Regions from separate parts of the Homo sapiens genome. Here all the other regions are linked to region 7. Evidence: promoter capture Hi-C in 16 types of primary human blood cells and fetal thymus (Javierre and others, 2016). All regions are on one chromosome and are shown on one strand. Each heading gives the region's core, a stretch centred on a gene start or on the middle of the fragment in contact. The rest is flanking DNA. Distances are from core to core; before and after follow the strand shown. Region 1 holds the start of FLG (filaggrin). Region 2 holds the start of FLG2 (filaggrin 2). Region 3 holds the start of SPRR1A (small proline rich protein 1A). Region 4 holds the start of SPRR3 (small proline rich protein 3). Region 5 holds the start of SPRR2F (small proline rich protein 2F). Region 6 holds the start of HRNR (hornerin). Region 7 holds the start of LCE2C (late cornified envelope 2C).

The links. The method cuts DNA at HindIII sites, captures the fragments that hold promoters and counts their contacts. A CHiCAGO score of 5 or more calls a contact.
Region 1: the fragment with the promoter of FLG here is called in contact with the fragment with the promoter of LCE2C in region 7 in 6 of 17 cell types (neutrophils, M0 macrophages, total CD4 T cells and 3 more); the score reaches 12.4 in neutrophils.
Region 2: a contact is called between the fragment with the promoter of FLG2 here and the fragment with the promoter of LCE2C in region 7, in 12 of 17 cell types (M0 macrophages, total CD4 T cells, neutrophils and 9 more). The highest score is 15.0, in M0 macrophages.
Region 3: a contact is called between the fragment with the promoter of SPRR1A here and the fragment with the promoter of LCE2C in region 7, in 11 of 17 cell types (neutrophils, monocytes, M2 macrophages and 8 more). The highest score is 14.1, in neutrophils.
Region 4: a contact is called between the fragment with the promoter of SPRR3 here and the fragment with the promoter of LCE2C in region 7, in 8 of 17 cell types (M0 macrophages, endothelial precursors, monocytes and 5 more). The highest score is 13.2, in M0 macrophages.
Region 5: the fragment with the promoter of SPRR2F here is called in contact with the fragment with the promoter of LCE2C in region 7 in 5 of 17 cell types (M0 macrophages, naive B cells, neutrophils and 2 more); the score reaches 11.0 in M0 macrophages.
Region 6: a contact is called between the fragment with the promoter of HRNR here and the fragment with the promoter of LCE2C in region 7, in 10 of 17 cell types (neutrophils, endothelial precursors, erythroblasts and 7 more). The highest score is 9.8, in neutrophils.

What each region holds. Positions count from the first base shown.
Region 1 is chr1:152,323,979-152,326,678 of GRCh38, reverse strand. FLG (filaggrin) reads left to right here and starts at 1,440. Exons shown (of 3, transcript NM_002016.2): 1 at 1,440-1,490. All of the region lies in intron 3 of CCDST (cervical cancer associated DHX9 suppressive transcript), which reads right to left. The HindIII fragment of the contact is 6,016 bases long and covers 1-2,008 here.
Region 2 is chr1:152,358,605-152,361,465 of GRCh38, reverse strand. It overlaps FLG2 (filaggrin 2), which reads left to right and starts at 1,460. Exons shown (of 3, transcript NM_001014342.3): 1 at 1,460-1,510; 2 at 2,560-2,719. The coding sequence starts at 2,582. The region is part of intron 7 of CCDST (cervical cancer associated DHX9 suppressive transcript); the gene reads right to left. The HindIII fragment of the contact is 5,522 bases long and covers 1-2,861 here.
Region 3 is chr1:152,982,319-152,985,330 of GRCh38, reverse strand. It overlaps SPRR1A (small proline rich protein 1A), which reads right to left and starts at 1,250. Exons shown (of 2, transcript NM_005987.4): 1 at 1,206-1,250; 2 at 1-119. The coding sequence starts at 100. The HindIII fragment of the contact is 3,855 bases long and covers 267-3,012 here.
Region 4 is chr1:153,000,169-153,003,022 of GRCh38, reverse strand. It overlaps SPRR3 (small proline rich protein 3), which reads right to left and starts at 1,274. Exons shown (of 2, transcript NM_001097589.2): 1 at 1,230-1,274; 2 at 1-21. The coding sequence starts at 2. The HindIII fragment of the contact is 2,627 bases long and covers 328-2,854 here.
Region 5 is chr1:153,112,049-153,115,002 of GRCh38, reverse strand. It overlaps SPRR2F (small proline rich protein 2F), which reads left to right and starts at 1,487. Exons shown (of 2, transcript NM_001014450.3): 1 at 1,487-1,529; 2 at 2,251-2,882. The coding sequence starts at 2,270. The coding sequence ends at 2,488. The HindIII fragment of the contact is 1,668 bases long and covers 82-1,749 here.
Region 6 is chr1:152,222,914-152,225,890 of GRCh38, reverse strand. It overlaps HRNR (hornerin), which reads left to right and starts at 1,698. Exons shown (of 3, transcript NM_001009931.3): 1 at 1,698-1,748; 2 at 2,613-2,775. The coding sequence starts at 2,638. All of the region lies in intron 1 of CCDST (cervical cancer associated DHX9 suppressive transcript), which reads right to left. The HindIII fragment of the contact is 14,241 bases long and covers 1-2,977 here.
Region 7 is chr1:152,674,009-152,676,806 of GRCh38, reverse strand. LCE2C (late cornified envelope 2C) reads right to left here and starts at 1,528. Exons shown (of 2, transcript NM_178429.5): 1 at 1,479-1,528; 2 at 238-812. The coding sequence starts at 791. The coding sequence ends at 459. The HindIII fragment of the contact is 8,836 bases long and covers 1-2,798 here.

The DNA.
Region 1 (2,700 bases), core at 191-2,690, 350 kb after region 7:
AATTTTGAAGAATCTTAAAAGATAAAGAGAAGTTAAGGATGAGGGTCTCTCAAGTCAAGGTAGTGGAGGATAGCACGCAAAGATTTTGAACAGTAGTGGACCAATATGGGCTCGTCCAAGAAATATTGCTCATTCTAGAGTGACTTTTCCATGAGATACAGGTAATAAGAGGGACAATTGAAAAGATACAGATTCATGCCTATTGTAAAGGGGCTTGTACGTCAGGTAAAAAAGTCTGAAATTCTGCAGGCAAGAAGAAACCAGCACAGCGAATGACATAAGATGGTAAGCCAGCTTAATAGTAGAGAGAGAGGCTAGTTACGACACTTTTTTTTCTTTACCAATACCCAATTGAAAGATGGTCAGGTCCAGAACTAAAATTATAGCACTGGAGGTAGAGAATAGGCCTACATAACAAAATCTAAGCCTGAGTATAATTGATACGATGTGACATGAGCATGAGGGGTTAAGGAAAAGGAGAAATGAAAATGACTTTGTCTAGCTTGAGACACCCAGTGTGTGGGGGCATCATTACCAATATATGGGCTTCTGGAGGATAGTACATTTTGGTAGGAGGCACAATGTAAGTTCAGTTTTCAACACTATGGATTGAGATAACCATGGGACATCCATATGGAGATGCAATCTGCTCAACATAACAGTGTGTATATCATAAGACAGACCAGGGATAGGAGTCCCCTGTATATTTATGGCAATAAAAGAAAATTCATGGTTTAAGAAGGAAGAGTATGTGGAACATGTCTCTGATGCCACGATGTAATAACCTTGAAAACAAAGTAAAATTACACTAATGAGTCTTGCCTAATTAAACTCATGCTCCTAGTGATCACCACTTCTAGTTCAATTGTTCACATTCTTGCTCTGCTTTGAAAAATTAAAATTAAATTTGCCTATCCTCTACTGACCATAATTTCTAGAAGACGGCATTCATCTCATGGCAAGTTCTTCAGTACCCAAAGATGGAATACATAGATTAAAAAAGAACATATATGTAGATGCTTGTGATGTTTTCCTATCATAAATTGAATTTCAAGTTCTTATAAACGTATTAATATGTCCTACTCTTCTAGAGACAAGGATCAGGAAGTGTATTTATCAATAGATATTTACCAAGCACCTGTCAAGCCAAAGTGGGGTTACAGAAAAGTAGGTATGGGCCCTGCACACAAACAACCTGTATTAGCCAAAGGGACCCTTCCATAAAATTTCCAATATGTAAACCCAAATTTGGAACTTGCTGAAACAAGTACAGATGAGTACGTGAGGAAGCTGGGAAGTAAACACAGGTTGCTGGAGAAATAGAGGTGGAGATATGGGTGGATCTAGGTTTGGTTAGGAATGAATCAGACCATCCCACAGAGGGTGGCTCCTCCCTGCATGGGGCCTGCTATAAAAGGGCCATTATCTCAGCCTTCAGTACCCAGCAGGCTCCTTCAGGCTACATTCTATTTGCTCTTTTGGTGAACAAGGTAAGAAGGAATACATTTAATTTTGTCTACTTACTATTAACCAAGGTGGAAATCTGAATGTATGTGTACTGTAAGGCAAAAGGTTCTGGAAGTTTAGGGTTTTTCTCTTTCTTTTTAGTGGCACTGTCACTAAAAGGTTTATTTCTATATAGAAGGAAAATGAGGGCATAAATTTGCTTTCCATGGAGCTACTCAATACTCTGTATTGTTAGATTGTCCATTTATTCATTTACTTAACAAATATGTATTAACTACCTTCTACTTGGTCTTGGCTCTATCTATGCAGCAGTGAACTATATAAACTCCTAGCAGCTTACCTTTAATAGGGGGAAACATTTAGTAAACAACAATAAACAAATAAGATAATTTTAAATAGTGATAAGAACAATGAAGAAAATAAAAGAGTGATGTAGTAGAGCAGGGGTGTCCCGTCTTTTGGCTTCCCTGGGTCATAATGGAAAAAGAATTGTCTTGGGCCACACATAAAACACACTGACACTAATAATAGCTGATAAGCTTAAAAAAAAACTCGTAATGTTTTAAGAAAGTTTACAAATTTGTGTTGGGCCACATTCAAAGCTGTCCTGGGCCACAGATTGGACAAGCTTGTAGTAAAGTGATGGGAGGGAGGAGGAAAGTGCTTTAAATTAGATGGCCAGGGGAAGACCTCTCTAGGGAATTATCTTTGAGTTGAGATCTTAAACACAAAAGAAACTAGCCAAGGCAAAGGGCAAGATTCTAAGCAAGAGTAAACTTGTCCCAAAGAGCAAAAAGAAGCTAGTGTGCCTTAGAGCATACATAGTTAAAAAGAGGACCAGTGGTATATGGTGATGTCAGAGAGCTAGACAGCGTAGCTCATGTAAAGAGGGGCACAGTAGAATTAAAACAGTACATGTTAGATTTTAGCATGTACTTAAAGGGGTATTAAGCAGGAGGAGTAAGATAATCTATGTTTTTAAAAGACCACTCTGGGCTGCTACGTGGAAAACAGGAATATAGGAAGGCAAGAGCAGGAGCAGGGAGAGACTGCATTCTTTTATGTGAAAGATGATGGAAATAATAGAAATAACGAGAAATAACTGTTTGCTCATACCAAAATCTAGAAGTTATCCATGATTCCTGTTTTCTCATCACACTGATTCATCACCACGTCCAGTCAACTCTGCCTACAAACCTGCCAAATCTATCCATTTATCCCCCTCTCTGCCAT
Region 2 (2,861 bases), core at 211-2,710, 320 kb after region 7:
GCTGCTACTAACTAGCTGCGATTTGTAACAAATGTTTACATTGCTCTATGCTTTTATTACCTTATCTATAAAATGGGGTTATTTTGAGGAATAAATAGATAAGCATGTAAACCTACCATGTATAGAAGATAGTAAGCACTTAGCACTTAATGGTAGCTGCTATCCTCCTCATCATCATCATTATCACCTGGTAGCAAAGTACAGCAGAATTGGCTCTCCATGCTTAAGACTTACAGCTCTCTGATTATTTTTGTTACCCTCAAGTGTATTTGATATACTTTCTGTACATAAGTGAACATTTTCCCAAGGGTCCAGGCCCTAAACATGCCAGACTACCAGTGGATCGCAGAGTGCTGGAAGAAAGCTCACTCTAAATTCACCCTGAACATATCTGAAAACATTATTTTTATATATAGCCAATTACACTTTTCTAGCCTAGAAATGAGCCTTCACAAGGTCAGAGAATGTTTCCTCTCTTCCTAACAGCACTCTGTATGTTACTTTTTTATATTATTTGCGTTTGAGTGGGCCTTACACTCCTAAAATGGTGCATAATTTTTGCATGATAGTTATATATGATAAATACACAGAGGTAAGTTAGTATAATGGTAAACAGCAATTGCAATAAGGTAGATACAGGTTCAACTTCTGGTTTCTCTGCCTACTAGCTATGACCTTGGAGAAGATCCTTATGCTTCCAGAACCTGTCTCTATAAAATGGGATAATAAATACATATCTCGTATGAAGGTTGTGAAGATTAAATGAGGTGATAAGATCTAGTATTTGGTAACATAATATGGTAACTATAGTTAACTATTTATTGTATATTTTTAAATAACTAAAATAGTAGAATTAGAATGTTCCTACTACAAAGAAATGCTTGAGGTGCTGGATACCCCAATTACTGTAATTTGATCATTACACATGGTATGCCCATATCAAAACATCACATGTACCCAACAATTATATACAACTATGTACCCATAACTAAAAGTGCAGATTTTTTAAAGATTGAGATGGTTTGTTTAAAGTATTTAGCACATAGTAAATTCTCAATAAATGTCACTTTTTATTATTACAAAAAAGACATGAATTAGATGAACCTAGTGGCTCAGGTTCATTTTCAATTAAATAAGCATTTATTGTGCACCTTCCAAGTATCTTACACTCTGCTACTTTCTGTGGGTACTAGTTAAAAGAAATGTATAACATGAGTCCTCTAAAACAAAGTCTGTGCTTTTCACATGTATATGACCCTGAAAAAAAAGGTATCTTGCAACCATGTCCTCGTACTGGAAGGTGGGGCTGGTACTAGCCTTTCTGCAATCATCTGTAGATAACAATGTGAAGGAGGAAGGTAAATATGTAGAGGTGGAGTTAGGTTTGATGGAAAATGAATCACCTCATTCACTATAATCACTATAAGCTATATAAGGGTCATTATCCCAATCCATCGTCACCCTGCAAGCTGCATCAGGCTTTATCCTACTTGTTCCTTTGGTGAACCAGGTGAGAGAAAATTCATCCAGCTACATTTATGAATATTTGGTGTTGTCCATAGTAGAAGTCTAGGGATATAAGCTAAGGCAGAGTTCATGTATATTTTGCCTTTCTTTTCTTTTTTGTTTCTTTCTTTCATTTTCTTTTCTTTTTGTTTGCTTATTTGTTTGGTTAGTTTAGTTTATTCTGGGGCCTTTTTGTAGTTAAGTTCATTTTTATGGAGAAGAATAATGCAAGTAAAAGTTCACCTTCCTCTAGGCCATTCCACAGTCTGTTCCGAGTCTTTTTCCATGCCCTCTTTTCTGGGCTGTCCAGCTCAAACTGGGAGGCAGCTGGGTCTGTTGCAGAGTCCCTTCCTTATTCAGTGTTGGTTCCCAGAGCTCCAAGATCTAATTATCCACTAGTTAAACTGCTGCCTGCATTGCTGAGCTCTTCTTCTTGATTAATTAAAGAAAACAGTGTTTGGTCAAGTGCTTGACATTAAGAGAGTTCCTAAGCTCTACTGAGTTCTACTGTCTCATGCCTATGAAACACCAAGCTATTTTGAGCCCCTTTGCCCATTTTTAATTTGCTGAAGGCCTTAAGGGTCCAGTTTAGCTTCTGGTGCCCAGAGGATAAACAGATGTGCATGGTGGAAGGTCTGTCACTTTTGACTCAAGAAAAGCAGTGAAACTAGAAAGAGAGATTGAGGCAATGGTGTCTGGCTGGTTCTGGAAATTTTGGAAGCCTTAGAACAACACCCAGAATGCCAACACACTCAAAGTGTAGAGATACTATGTAGAGACTATACTTACCCATGACAGGAAATATAGAGACTTGAGGTCTATTCTCAGTTGAACCAGTAACATGCCAAGACTTGATCACAGAAAAGTAACTCAAAGTTAACAAAGTTAATTTTCATTGTGTTAAACGGGGTTGTATCATCCCTGGCCCATTCTTACGTTTTGAGATTTAAAAAACAAGAGGTTAAAAAAATCATGCTGGTTATTATTAAAATGAAAATTGCTGATAAAAGGAGAGAATATGAATAATAGGGTTCTTTGTTTTTCTGTGTCCAGGTTCACTTAAACTTGCAAAAAGATGACCGACCTCTTGAGAAGTGTTGTCACCGTAATTGATGTTTTCTACAAATACACCAAGCAAGATGGGGAGTGTGGCACACTGAGCAAGGGTGAACTAAAGGAACTTCTGGAGAAAGAGCTTCATCCAGTTCTGAAGGTGAGAGCCATGTGCCAGAACTGAAGGCTGCTGGAGTCCTGTACAAGCTCTGTTGTATGACCCAGATCAGCTAAAAAGTGCACAGCCCCAGTGAACTCTAAGCAAACTCTATGAGTGGTATTTTGGGGATGCCAGAAAGTCT
Region 3 (3,012 bases), core at 1-2,500, 310 kb before region 7:
TGCATGGTTCCTGGGGTGGAGGCTGGCAAGGTTGTTTCACCTGCTGCTGCTGAGGCTGAGGGGGTGGGGTGCAAGGCTGCTTCTGCTGCTGAGAATTCATGCTTCAAATGTGTTTTTTTCTAGAGACAGAAAGCTGACACAGTGATTCAATTAAAGAAAGATGGATACAAATTCAATGCCAAACAGATTTTATTTCAGGACCCTTTAGAAGAGAAAGCCTTTCATCTCCCTTAACTCCCCCATTACATTTAAAAATGAAATAAGCTTGGATAATTTTCAGGCCCTTTGAAGAGGAGGAGCTAAAAGGCAATTTCTTCTGCTCCATTTTATTGGAGTTCTCTTCTTGGCTCCCTTCCTACCCAAGGCAACTTATATCTGTTCTGGAAAAATGCCCTACTAAAGCTGGCTTCTGAGGGACATGAGGTCCGCATATTAGGTCTTTTGGAAAATGGCATCAGACCACTTTCCTCTCCTAGTACCATGTAGAAAGCCTGTGACTTATAGGATGGCTTTATATTCATCTAAGCCTCTATGGTTTTGCTTCTGGTCTGTGCTTACACAGTCCCTTCCAAATGCTTTTCTTCCCATCTCTGCTTGTCCAAATACCCCTCCATCATAGCTCACATCACTTGACACCCCTAGGAGGGTCTCCTTGAGCAAGGTCTCCCAAAAGTGCACAGCCCTTCTCTGCCCATCTCCGTCATGCCAATTACTATCTACTTTGCATTTCATTTATTTATATATATGTATTACCTTCCTGCTAGGTTTTATGTTTGTTAAGTAAGTACGTTAGGCATTGATTTGTCCAAAGTGCCTAGCATACTGCCTTAAATGGAATAAATGCTCAGTAGAGATCCATCTAATAAATTAAAATTTCTATAAATATCTTGTCAGGGGGAAATTGCAGTGTTACTGAGAGTGCTCTGGGCCTGAGTTCTAGTTCTGCTATGAACTTCCCATGGGCATTTGAACAATCTTCTCCAGGACTCCCAGTTCAATGACTATCTACTGAGGTGGGAGCCCTAACCATCTCTAAGGTCCTTTCAAATCCAGACTGTAATTTAACTTAAAATAAAGATATTCCACTATTCTCTATCTCCCATTGAAACCCTGGATTAACCTGCTTACACATATTTGCCTTTAGCTAATTTCTAATAATGAAAAAGTACACTAGAATTGCCAGTTTGTTGCAATCAGAGACTTACCTGGTATACGGAGCAGAATGGGCTGTGTGGTCCCTTGGGTTTGGTGTGAAGGCAATGGCCAGCTGGCTTTTATAAGATGAATGAGCCCTGCCTCAAGGAAATAGAAGCTCTCGGGCACTCTGTTTTCATTCCTCACCTGTCACACATGACTCACACTACCATCCTCATCACCGGTTGGCTCAGCTTTTTTGATGAACACCACCTGATATTTTTTGGCACTGGCTGGCTGAAAATGATGTCACTGGCCTAATTTTCACTGCCACCCTCATCCTCAGACCCAGGTGCAGGGCTTGCCTTGAGGGAGGGGTGAGCAGCAGGCTTCATGGAGGGTTTCATGAGTTAACCCTGGGGGGACATCTGAGTCCTGTTGAGGCCTTGCCACCTGCTGTCCTTGTCATTGAGATGGTTGTTCCCCGTGTTCTGTGGGACAGGGCACTCTTGCACACATGAATAGGTGGGAAAGGGAGGGGGAGCAGAGGAGCTGAGGTGGGCCCTCCTTGTCTGCCTTGGTGAAGGTGGAAGCTAGAAATAATGAAATGGACTGATTATAGACCCCTTGTCTCAGAGTCCAAGACCCTTCCATCCATTTCCCCCATCTTTTTCCCAATTCCATTAAACTACACACATTCAGAATAATTTACTTATGACTCTCCCACTCTCACCTTCCTCCCCCTGACTGGTTGCTAATCTGGGAAAACCTGCTTTCCTTCACCAACCACACCTTTACCCTTCTCCTACTTCAGGGACTTTCAGGGGCTAATCCTTCTTCTGGGATCACTTTTTCCCTTCACTCCACCCAGACATCTGGCCCTGGCCTTTTCCTCCTTTCTGATCAGGCTAGACTGCCCCCCACCTGAAAACCCAAAAGCCTTTTCTACCTGCCTCCCTGCAGCCCATCCATGGGGTCCTCAATGCTGAATCCTTCTCCACTTTTGCCCACTGCCAGCTCCAGCCCCAATACCTAGAGATCCTGCTGGCTGCAAGGTTTTCCTCCTCCTTCTGGGTCTGTATCTCCTGGGGGCTTTCCGAGGGTCAGAGCTGTTCCTGCTTAAAGCAACGGTGTCCCCACCACAGTGTTTATTTCCTCATTTATTCAACAAATCTCAGTGGGGAGCCTAACATATGCCCATCATGCCTGTCATTCTAGGAGCTCTCTGATGAGGAAGCCCACTTTTCCTCTACAGATCATGAACTCCCCAGGGTAAGAGACAGAGCACAGTTGAGAGCCACTGAGATTATGGATCTCAGAGAGCCTTTAGTTCACACTCCTCAAGGGATGATTGGGGAATCTGAGGCCACCAGAGGTGAAATAACTCACCAAGGTCAAAAAAACAAACCCTAGGAAGAAAAGAATTTTACACAGAAATCCTGTGTTCTCCTTTGTTTTAATTCCTTGTGACTCCCTAATGTCTATGGAGGAAATTAAGCCCAGGCAGAAAATTGATTAGAGGTGGAAAGGGGAGCCCTTCCTGACTGAGAGCTGGGTCACTTGTAGTTCTGGAAAGTTTTAGGAGTGACAGCGTGAGGACACAGAAAGAGCCTTGCCTTGTGGGTAAGCCTTAATCGGTGCTAAGATAAATCCCTTTAAGTAGAAATAAAGATGCTTAATATTTGAGTGGCTCTAAACAGTGGGTGTTTCTAGCTCTGCTAAAGTAAGAAGGGCATGAATTAGAATAGGTGGAAATAAGGTTCAGTTTATCATTACTCAGGGCACCAGGGTCGGAGAAAGGAAGGGAAAAGCCAAAACTAAAATGTCTGCTTCTATCCTGAGTTGCTTTCGCTCTAGGGGAGCTCTCAGAGTGACATC
Region 4 (2,854 bases), core at 25-2,524, 330 kb before region 7:
ATGCTTCAAAGGATGCTGGACCTAGAGACAAAACAGCTAATTCAGTGCTTTGATTAAGTAGGAATGAAGCCCAGTTTAATGACAAATATCTGTCATTTCATTCTCCTTCAGAACTGAGAGCCTCTCTTTTCTTTCTTTTTCCCTGAATTTGAGATCATGGGATGCTTTGGTGATCCCCACTTATCTTCCAGAGAATAAGGTAAAGTTGATTTCTTCCACATCGTGTAAATGGAGCCTTTCTTTATGCTTCTTTTCTTCCTGGTACATCTAAAAACCTACGTACAACATGAAAACACATACAAATATGCAAATATATACTCTGAAGCTTTCGCTTACACACTCTTTGAAGAATCCTCTAAGCTCCTGAATTAAGCAGAAAGTCTTAGTGGCTTTTCTGGTCTTCAGCTGCTCAGGGATCATCTGAGGAATTGAGTGAAAAGAAATGCATGTTTCTTGCTCTTCCCTGATTAAATCACTTTTAATACCACTCTTGGCTGTGTGTCATTGGCTGAAGATTGATGTGACACCTCAGTTTTTCCATAAGTTGGAAAGATTTTAAGGTCAGCAGTCTAGAATCTACTCACTCATGTCCTCCTTATAGAGTGCGATAGTTCTCCCAGGAGAACTCTTATCTAAACTTCCCCCTAAGGCTCCCACAATCCACCTGGGAGCCTCTGTTCACACTGTGCCTGCTGCACATGCTCTCTGGCAGGCTCTCCACATCATCGCTGCCTCCCCACACATGCCCACCTCTCATGGCTGTCCTTCCTGATGCTCTCACCTTCCTCGTTTTGCCACAGCATGATACTTGCTTTCCCTCTCTGCTAATCACTCCCCATGCTGTATGTTTGCAAATTTTAGTCAAGTATATGTTTTCTAATGGATTATACATTCATGCAATAAAGAAAAACTTATCTTTTGATCATCAAAATTGCCAATGTAGTGCCTTCTATATTAAAAATTTTCAATACATGTTGACAGGAGAGTGCTCTTGAAGTGGGTATATTGTCTTGCTAACTTAGCAAGCCTTTACAGAAATCACTCCCCTTTTCTGATCCTAAGTTCCACACCTGTAATCTGAGTGGAAAGTCAAAATATGTATAAGGTCACCTTAAACAAAAGTCGTTATTGCATTTAAAATAAATATATTCATTGCATAGCAAAGAGATCTCAATCAAAATAAAGAAACTATTGGAGAATATTAAGGTGTTCCTAATGCGGAGACTCACCTGCTGTGCAGAGAAGGTCGAGGTGTTCAGCCTCTGGGATCTGGTGAAGAGTCTCTTGTTAGCTGGTATTTATATAGAAAATGAGCCCTGCCTTAAGAAAATTGGATTTTTTAAAAGACTGCTCTAACTTCATTCCAGCTTTTGTGATAAGTATCTCTGGCTTAACATTTTTTGTCACTTAAGCTCTGACAGTGATGTCACCTGGGCCTGACTCACTGTCCACCCTTTGTGGTGTGGTTGCTGTGGGCAAAGGTCTTCTTGAATGGCAATGGATTAAATTAGGAGGAAGTACCATGCTCCTAGGACTAGAACGAGCCAGGCCTCTTGGCCTGGGCCCTAATCTTTAGCCAGATTAGTCCTATTGGGCTTCCTCATGGTTGAAGTGGACATGGAAATAACAATAGGCATTTCTGGTTCTGCGAGGCCATGGGGATGGTGCAGAATAAGTGAATCATCTGATTTTCAGTCTCTTACTGGATTTGGACCTGGGAGGAGCAATGGAAGGCAAAATGCCTGCTTTGGAAATAAGTTGCTTTCACTGTGAAGGGCGCCTTAAGGTGCCGTGTTGATCAGGGATAGTAGATGTCATTGAGATGGACAGGCAGGATTGACTGGATCTGTGTGACATTGTGGCTCAGCCCTGAAGACCCTGCCTCTTGTGGTATCTTTCTTCTCCAGGAGTGACATAGGAAGAGGAGCGTGCTGATTCCCTAGGTTCATACACCAGCCATTTCCTCTGATCACTACAGGATGAACCTCAAGTCACTAACTCAGAGTTGCCCTCAATACACACTCTCTTACTAGACGCGGCCCTTGGAAAATCCAGACATCCTTACATCTCAGGCATGTGAATAGCTCCTCCTTTCCCAATGTTCCACGACTGTGTTACTCCCTTGAACCTGATGCCCAGCTCCTTCCACCAGGTTCTGAAAGCCCCTTGTTCTACTTCAGCGTCACACAGTGCCTGGTTATCATGGGTGTTAAGTCAATGGACAGTCATTGTTCTCCTGAATAGAGCTGTAGGTTCATGGAAGGGAGAAAGGAAGTGAGAAAGAAACAGAGATAGATAAAGAAGAAAGGAAAGAAAGAAAGAAAGAGAGAGAGAGAGAAGGAAAGAAAGAAAGAAAGGAAGGAAGAAAGGAAGGGGAGGGGAAGGAAAGGAAAAGAAAAGAAAAGAGAAAAGAAAAGAGGAAAGATAGGGAGGGAGGGAGGAAGGCAGGAAGCCACAAGGCAGTTTCTTGGGCATGATTCACTGTCCTGTGCCAGGCCTCCTGGTGTGAGCTGAGAAGAGGTGTGAGCTGATAATTCATGAAGGAGAAGAGGCTTACCCTCCCTTCCACACCCATGTCCTTCCCTCTCTGCTAGCATTTGTTTGACCGGCCACTTCCCTCTGGGATGGGCCAGGGCCACTGCCATGCCTAAACTCTGGGCTCTGTCATCACATTAGCTCTTTTTCAGTGTTGGGTCCAGGTTTCTCTCCTCAGCAAATCCACCTCTCAGGAGCCACAGACCCTGGGGGCTTCGGCTAGACCCTGCTGCTCCACCTGGGATTTTCCTCCCCAGAGGAAGGAAGCTCCTCTATGAATCCTGGTCTCCCTCATTTTCTTCCTCGATTCTGCACCTTG
Region 5 (2,954 bases), core at 238-2,737, 440 kb before region 7:
CAATGATTTTGAGTCTTTCCTCTTCCTCTTCCTCATTTTCCTTTCTTCTTCTCCAACTATAAACCACATTCTTGGAAAGCTTTCTGACTACTGGTCTAAGGAAGCTCTAGCAACATCAACTTAAATATTTAATATACCATGTTTAGTAAGCCTCACTAATTGCTGGAAGAGTTTACAAAAGATATGAAAGAGGAGTCACTATATGCATTGACAATATATATGTTGAGTGAACAATATGTACCAAAATGAATAGATGAGAGGTGTACATTGGGGTGTGACTTGATAATCTAGCAGGTCATGAGACTAGGGGGCTTATGGAAAAGACAGAGAAAGAACATGCAAACAAATTAAAAAACACTGAGAAACACCTAAAACCTGTTTAGAAACAGAGGGGAAGAATACATATTAGATTATACTTAATTTGTATTTTCCCCCAGATTTCAGACTTTAGGTGCGCTGACCATCTCCACTCTGCAAACCTACTTCTAATTATTCACATATGATAATGTGAGTCTATGCAGATTGTGCTCTATAGGGTGGTTTCAGGGAATCATATAGGCATGGTTCAATACATAGATTTTGAATGAATGCTTGTAATTTTGTTTCATGTCTCTCCGTTTCCTTAATGTGGTAGCAAAGAATACATTTTTATAAATAAAAAGGCGCTAGTATACATCCTTAATGGCAGCAAGTAGCAAATGTGCTGGGGAGACTGGCTGTCACTCTGGAATCTGTCCCAGGTGACAATTGCCTGTACAAATTGGGTGGAGAAGACAGCTTCAAAGAGGAAAGGAAAATCGTAAAATCCAGGGTTCTATGAGAGAGAAAGATAGAAGTGGAGGAGAAAGTTTCTGGCTTGAACAGGGTCAGCAGATGGCACAATGCGGTCAGCTCCCATCTCCAGAGGTAAGTATGATTCTCCCCTGCTTATAATCACAGGGAGGAGAGGTGACCTGCCTGTGGTCACACAACTTAGCAACAAAAAAAAAAAAAAAAAAAAAAAAAAAAAATCTGGGACCAGAACCCAGGCCTTTGTTAGGTCTCTCCTTCCTTTTAGCGCATTGGCAAATTGTACAAGGAAAGTAGAGGTGGAGATGGGTTCATGTACAACAATATGGCATTCAGTAAAGTGGATCAGGACAGGAAGTTTTATGATTTAGGGAAGGTGTAAGACAGGAAAGGATCATTGCCCCCAGTCAAAAAAGAGAGCCCTTGACCACCAGTTAGAGAATCCCCCAAGTCCCTCTTTGCCATAGGTCACTGAAACTGAGATCTAAGGCAGGGCCTCTGTGAGTCAGGAGCACTTAACCCAGTGGGGAGATCCCAGAACAGGATATTTCCTAGTTTGATAATCACTGTCAGGCCAGTTGTGGATAAATTTGCATTTGGCTTAAGAAATTACTGGATAAGTGTAGCTTTTGGCAGTTACACTTTCTGCTGGGAGGGGTAGCAGGCCCTATAAAGAGGTTTTCTGCTGCACGACTCCTAAACTCCTGGTACCTAAGCACCGATCTGCCTTGGAGAACCTGGTGAGTCGGCTTCCTGGAGTTCCTCTGTTCTTTGTGCCCTGAAATGTTGAATTTAATCTGAATACAGCAAGTTTGGTTGATCCAATCCTATGAATGTTGATTTGATGCTACTTAGTGGATGGAAATTTAGGATTAGAGCACAATGATATGCTATTTTAGCTTTCTTTTAGTACAGAGTTAGGTGTTCATATGGACAGAGAAGTTAGTTAAGGGGAAAGCTTTGATTTGAAGAAGAAAAAATAACAAAGTATTTTTCTTTTTTTCTCTGCTTTTCTGGTGTCCTTTTCAAAGGTTTATGTCGTAGCAGGTGTGAGAGCATGCAATTCTTCCCAAACAGTCGTTTTCTGTGTGCCTATGTCAACCCACTGGGATTTTACAACAGATAATGATAACAGGAATAGCTTGTGAGATAGCCCTGGGTATCTGAACTTGTGACTGCCTTTCTTGAAGATGTTATTTTCATAGAAATAACATGCTTGGTTGTTTACTACAGAGATATTTTCTTTGGAAAAATTATATGAGAAAACACAAGAGTTCCCAGGGACAATGAAGTAATTCGCTGAAGTGGAAGTGAGAAGCCAGGGACTCTTGAAAAGGGAATTAAGAGTTTAAATAATTTCTTGGAGATTGGAGAAATAATATGCCATGGTATTACATAAGCTTTGGCTTCTCTCTCTGGAGGATTCCCTTCCCGTGAACACTGTCATATAATTTCTTTCAGATTCTGAGACTCCAGCAGGATGTCTTATCAACAGCAGCAGTGCAAGCAGCCCTGCCAGCCACCTCCTGTGTGCCCCGCGCCAAAGTGCCCAGAGCCATGTCCACCCCCGAAGTGCCCTGAGCCCTGCCCACCATCAAAGTGTCCACAGTCCTGCCCACCTCAGCAGTGCCAGCAGAAATGTCCTCCTGTGACACCTTCCCCACCCTGCCAGCCAAAGTGTCCACCCAAGAGCAAGTAACAGCTTCAGGATTCATCAGGAGCATGAAAGGATAAGGATAATTGGCTCACCTCGTTCCACAGCTCCACCTGCATCTTCTCATCAAAGCCATCCAGGGATACACAGGGAGCTTCTTTCCTCTTAGCCTGTGATCGGCCTGTGATGATCTCTGATAGCAAAAGGTTTTCTTTTTGAGGCTGCCATACTGCCACTGTCCAGGTGGAGACTGAGCAAAGGAAGTCCTGGGCTGTGCCAGCTCCCAGAGCTTCAGAAGAAAGAGCAGCTCTCTCCCTGGGAACCATTAGAGAATTCTGTTGATGTTTTCTGTGTCTGTCTGTCCCCTGGGCATGAGCTTCCACCACCTGTGCAGTTGTCACTTTCCTTTCACTCCCTGAATAAAGAATCTATGCATATATATTTGTGAATGGATCTTTTGTTTCTTTTCAAATATGCTTTATTAGCAATATTTTATAATCATTTGGGTATA
Region 6 (2,977 bases), core at 449-2,948, 450 kb after region 7:
CCTGGCCCAATCAGATGTCCAGAGGAAACACGGCTACAGAATGGATACTGACTCTGCAGCCCTCTGGGCAATTCTTAAAAGAAAACACATAGCCTAACAATAGTTGAATTTGGAATCATGTAATTTATCACTTGCCAACAGTTGCTACCACACCTTCTCAAATCCTGATGACCATATTGCACAAGTTTTAAGTCCATGTAACTTCACACACCTTCAGTGAAATTTGTGTTATATGTTCACAATGGAAGAAATGCAGAGCGAGGGCCTCAGAAAAAAGCAGAAAGCCACTCATTGATTCTCAATGCTAAGATTCCGTTTATATTCAGGTAAAATCATGTCCTCTGAGGCAAAGATGGCAAGAGAGAGGGCAGACCCTAGTCCTCCTGTGAAAAGATGGAAGTTGGCCAATGCAGAGGACTATAGTCTTGATCCTTGCTTCTCTTTCAAATGAATTCAAACTGACATTTATTGGAGACCGTTATGTGACAAGCAGTATACTAGGTCTCCAAATGACATAAGGATAAATAATGTCCATTCCTTATTCTCAAGGAGCTCATAGCCTAGAAATGAAATAAGCCCATAGACAAATGTGTGTGTCTGTGTGTGAATGTGTGTGTTTGTGAAAGGCAAGGATATACAACAAATAACTAACAGTAGTTATTTTTGGCTAGTGGCTTTAAAGGTATTTTGATTTTATCTTATTTGCTTATCAATATTTTCTAATTTTTATATTAAACAATAATTGTATAGTAAAACAATTTTTAAAGATTACAATATAGTATGATTGATACAACAATAAATATGAATAAGGTACACAATTACAACTCCCTCTTGAGTAATTCAGGAAAGATTTTCTATGGGAAGCCTAAATTGGATTTTGAAGAATAATTAGTTCACTAGGCAGACAATGAGGAAAGACATTCTAAGAAAAAATATGAAATAACATATCCCATGGTATATTGAGGAAGTTTGAAATATTACTAGTTAATTACTGTTGGAGTACAAAGAGAAATATGGAGGGGAGAAATGGAGCTGGAAAAAAGCCACAGCCCAGATCATGAGGAACCATGGATACCATGCTAACAAGCACGCATTTCTTCCTAAGGTTATATGGTGTTTGAAATGAAAGCTATGGTGATGAATGGCCAATAAGGGGTCTGGTAAATTGAGGTACTTAATGAGTTAAAGGATGGCCTGGAGCCATTATCCAATTCAAAAGGTAATAACAATACCAAAGATGACACTTTGGCTGGAATACCATTTAAGAACATTTAGCTTAGAATGGGAGAGTTTGACTAGATGATCTTTACAGTCCTTTTAATCATCAATTTCCATGATTTTTTGACATTTGGGCCATGATGTCCCTGCACACACTCCATTCAACTTCTATTAAAATCCACACAATTTGTTGTCAATATATTGTGCTAGATAGTTTGATGAATACAAAAACAGGCCTTTCTGCAGTGTCCTGACCCTTTGGCAGGTGGGGCTGAGAGTAGCCCAGATTTGGGAACTGCTAATGCAATCTTAGGTGAACCTGTAAGGAAGTCAGGAAGAAGGTAAACACCTGGGAGGTGGAGATAGAGGTGGAGATGGGCTTGTTTAGGAGTAAATTAGGACATCTCAAAATTAGCAACTCCTCCCTAAGAGGGACCATTATTCCCTCTATAAAAAGGCCACTCTGCCCAACTCGCAGCACCCTGAAAGCTGTTTCTGTCTCTACCCTACTTGTTCCTCTGGTGAGCTAGGTAAGTGAGCAGTTCAACTCCGCTCAAGGGTACTTAGGGCTATAAATTATGAAAGTCCAGGATGTGCTCTAAGGCAAAGAGGCACTAGATACAAGGCTTCTTTTTAGTATACTCTGGGGAACTTTGGTATAAGTTTAAATTTACTGAAAAGAAAAATGAAACAAAGACTAGGACTATGTATATTATCTCCTTTCTTTGAGGTCGCTTCCCTTATAACATGGATATCATGGGGTTCTAATTATCCACAGGCAGGTTGCCTTCTTTACAACTGAGCTTTTCCTCTCTATTGTGTAATAAGGTCTGAGGGTCACTTCCTGCTTGGAGAATGAGAACAGAAGCTGGATCTAATAGCAGTTACCCTTAGCTTCATATCACCTAGGCTTGTTGGCTTTGCTCACATTGTCTATTTTCTCTGACCTAGAAGTCTTGAGAGTTCAGTTCAGCCATTGATGCTCCTTAGGTTGAGTAAGGCATGTCATGTAGATGATGGACCTATGCCCACAGTATGCTTCGAACCTAGAAAGAGGAAGCAGATGAAGTGGAACACTCAGGACTTCTACAGCTCCAGAACAAAGCTAATATTATCCCTGGTAATGGCAGGAAGCCAAAAACAGAAAGTCATTTTTCCTACATTCATTCAGGAATGGAAATAAGACCTATGGATTATATTCCTAATTTCATCACTCTCTTGCTACATGGCTTGAACAAGTCATTCAACTCTGAATTGGTTCTTGATTACAACAGAATGAATTTAATCATGACTGACTAATTCTGAACAATTATTATAAATAATTAGAACTATTTATGTGTTTAAACAAGAAATAAGAATAGTAAGGGGTTGGTCTCTCTTTTTCCTCCCTTTAGGTTACTCAAACTTGCAAAAAAAAAAATGCCTAAACTCCTACAAGGCGTCATCACTGTCATCGATGTTTTCTACCAATATGCCACCCAGCATGGGGAGTATGATACGTTGAACAAGGCAGAGCTGAAAGAACTTCTGGAAAATGAGTTTCATCAAATTCTGAAGGTAAGAACTCCACGCCAGGATGGAGTTATGCAGGAATTTTCTTCTTTATCCCTTTCCACCTTCTTGTCACATATGTCAAACATCCTAGAGGATTGTCCTTACTTGGTGAGAGAGAACAGGGTTTGGTAAAAGTTTGAGATAAGGTCAAAAGCAGATCCGTGATGGTTTCCATAGCATAACTAACGGAAGTGACCTTACTAAA
Region 7 (2,798 bases), core at 279-2,778:
GAAAATTAGAACATGTGTCTGGCTTAGTGGAGAGAAAGGCAAAGCTACCATAGCCAGAGGTGACCCTCTTGGAGCTCCATTCACTCAGCATCTGGGGGAATCAGTTCCTCAGAGCAGCTTTTCATGTATCACCTACTCATGTCCTGTCCTAGCCTCATGAAGAAAATTACTCTGAGGCCCTGACCTTTGGAGGACATTTGAAATCTCAGAAGAGAAGAGAATGACCAAGACATTTAGTGAGTCAGAGATCAGAGCTTTATTATAACATGAGGTAAAGGAGGAAAAGAAGACTTGCAATTGGGGTGTTACATCAAGCACGAAGTTCTTCCAGGAAAGCCCCATGAGTCTTTGTGGTCTCTGCCAACCAATGAATGGAATGAGAGGAAGTGGAAAGAGTATCCATCAGGCCGTAGCAGGTTCTTGGCCATTCAGTCCCAAGAGCTCTTCTGTAGCCCAGGTCAGCAGCAGCCCCCAGAGCTGTGGCAGCAGCCAGAGCCCCCAGAAGGTTCACTCTCACAGCAGTCGGGGCTCTGGTGCCGGCGCCGGTGGAAGAGACGGGGCCTGTGGTGGCTCAGGGAGCAGCCACCAGCCCCAGAGCTGCAGCAGCCCCCAGAGCTGGGACCACAGCAGCTCCCAGAGCTGGGACCACAGCAAGAAGAGACTGCAGGGAAACATGGAGCTGGGCACTGTGGTGGGCATTTGGGGGGACACTTAGGTGGACATTTTGGGGTACACTTGGGAGGACACTTGGGAGGGGGCTGGCACTGCTGCTGGTTTTGCTGGCAAGACATGCTGGCAGGAGTTTAGTCAACCTGAAAGATAATAATGAAACTCTTTAAATATTTCAAACCAAGGATCATATTATACCTCTTCTAAAATCAATGCATGTGTAGAAGAAGAATGATATTTAGATAATACAATCACATCAGTAACCTGAAAGAAACAACTTGAATCTTTCCTCTAGATAAAAGTACGTAGATAAAAAATCAACAGAATGAGCTTCTTACTCTTCCTTTCAGGGGAAACTGCGATTGCTCTATCCTCACAAGCCCGAATAGAGTATTCACAGCTCCCTGAAGTACCTATTCCTTTAATACAAGCCCTAAGGACAAGCTGGGTGTTGCAGGACATACCAAGGGGTCCTCTGGAAAATATTTTGCAATGAAACCTCCAGATAAAAGAGCCTGGCTTGAAGTATTTGCCAGTTTCCATGGTGTAAATATGCCCAACACAGCAGTTTTGAAGTTACCAACATGAAGTCACTGAACACAGAATTGGAAAAGATGTGCACAGTTAGCTTTCCCCACCTATATGAGCTCCGGTAGGCCTCAGAGCCTCAACAGATTCGAGGCAGGCTGAGTCCCATTCCTGCTCAGTATGGCAGAACACAAGCACACAACTCTTTCTCCAGCCTACCTCCATCCTCCCCATCCCTCTGCCTTGCTCATACCCCTCTGGTATCCCAGGTTGCCACTCACCCTGGTCACACGCAGGAGCACAGACACGTCCCTGGGGAGTCAGAGCAGATGAGATGCTGAAGCTGGATGTGTCTTTTATAGGGCCCAGGCTTGGCTCTGGAAAGAGCAGGAGGTGGCTCTTGCACAACCAGGCACACGCTGGGTCATTCCTGACATTCTCCTGCCTCTTAGTCCCTGCAATCCAAAGAGGCCTCAGGAGCTTCCAGGACTCCTCTCTGGGGCTGCAGTCTAGAGAGGCTGTAGCCAGTCAGAGCCTCCACCAGGTGGGAACCCTAAAGAGTTAACTTAGGGTACCCAAGGGACCCACACCTGGACAAGATTCTGTTCCCTGCATTTTTTTAATGCATGTCCTCTGAGGAAACATCAGTTCTGAGCCACAGCTTTCCCTGACCTTGTGGAAATGTTCCATTATGACTCCCTCCACCCTGAGCAGTTTCTCTTCCATGTCCTGCTGTGGATCCAGCCATCCCAGAGGGCTTCTACAGCCTTGGCTTTTTCTAGGCATCCCTCCCTTGCCTAGGCTCTCAGCCCTTCCTCCTGGCCTCTGTGTTTCTGCTTTTCCTCCGACTCACCATGGCAAGCAGATTCGGTGGATTAAATCTGAGTTGATTCTGTCACCTAAAGCAAGGAGAATGATTGAGAATAAACAATTCCCTCTAAAATCTAAACATTTCCTTCAGTCAGAGGACTTGTATTGAATGTGCTACTGGAATCAGAAAACTTGCATATGATAACTGGGTAATCTCTGAAAGTTGCTGTAACAATTATCAATAATTGCTAGAGTATTACTATGATACTCACTGTGAGTATCAGTTCTCACATATAATGCCCATTATAAACCTATCAGTGAGATATACCTATCTCACTGAGCTGTTTGTAATATAAAGTGAGAAGCAAGAAAGAGCTAAGTATGACATTTTGTGCCTGATAGACCCTTAATAAATATATGTTTAATAGAAAAACTAATGCCATGTATTGGATACTTGCCCCGGTCTTATGTGTCATTAATTGCCCATATAGAGCCCTTACCCTCAGAGAGCTTAACTCCACCAGACACTTAGATTATTTGAAACCTGTCTTGGGAAGTAGACATCATTTCTTGGGGCTCCTATGCAGAGGGAACTCCTTTCCTACCAGGAAGTAGAGGGTCAGCCAGGAATCTAGTTATTCAGAGTTCTGATTCAGGGTTGCACTAGACAGAGTTACCCAGTCATTTATTCATTTAGTTTAAACAGATACATTGAGTGTGAACCTTGAAAACATTACACTACGTGAAAGAAGCCAGTCACAAAAGACTGCATATTGTATGATGTTATTTAT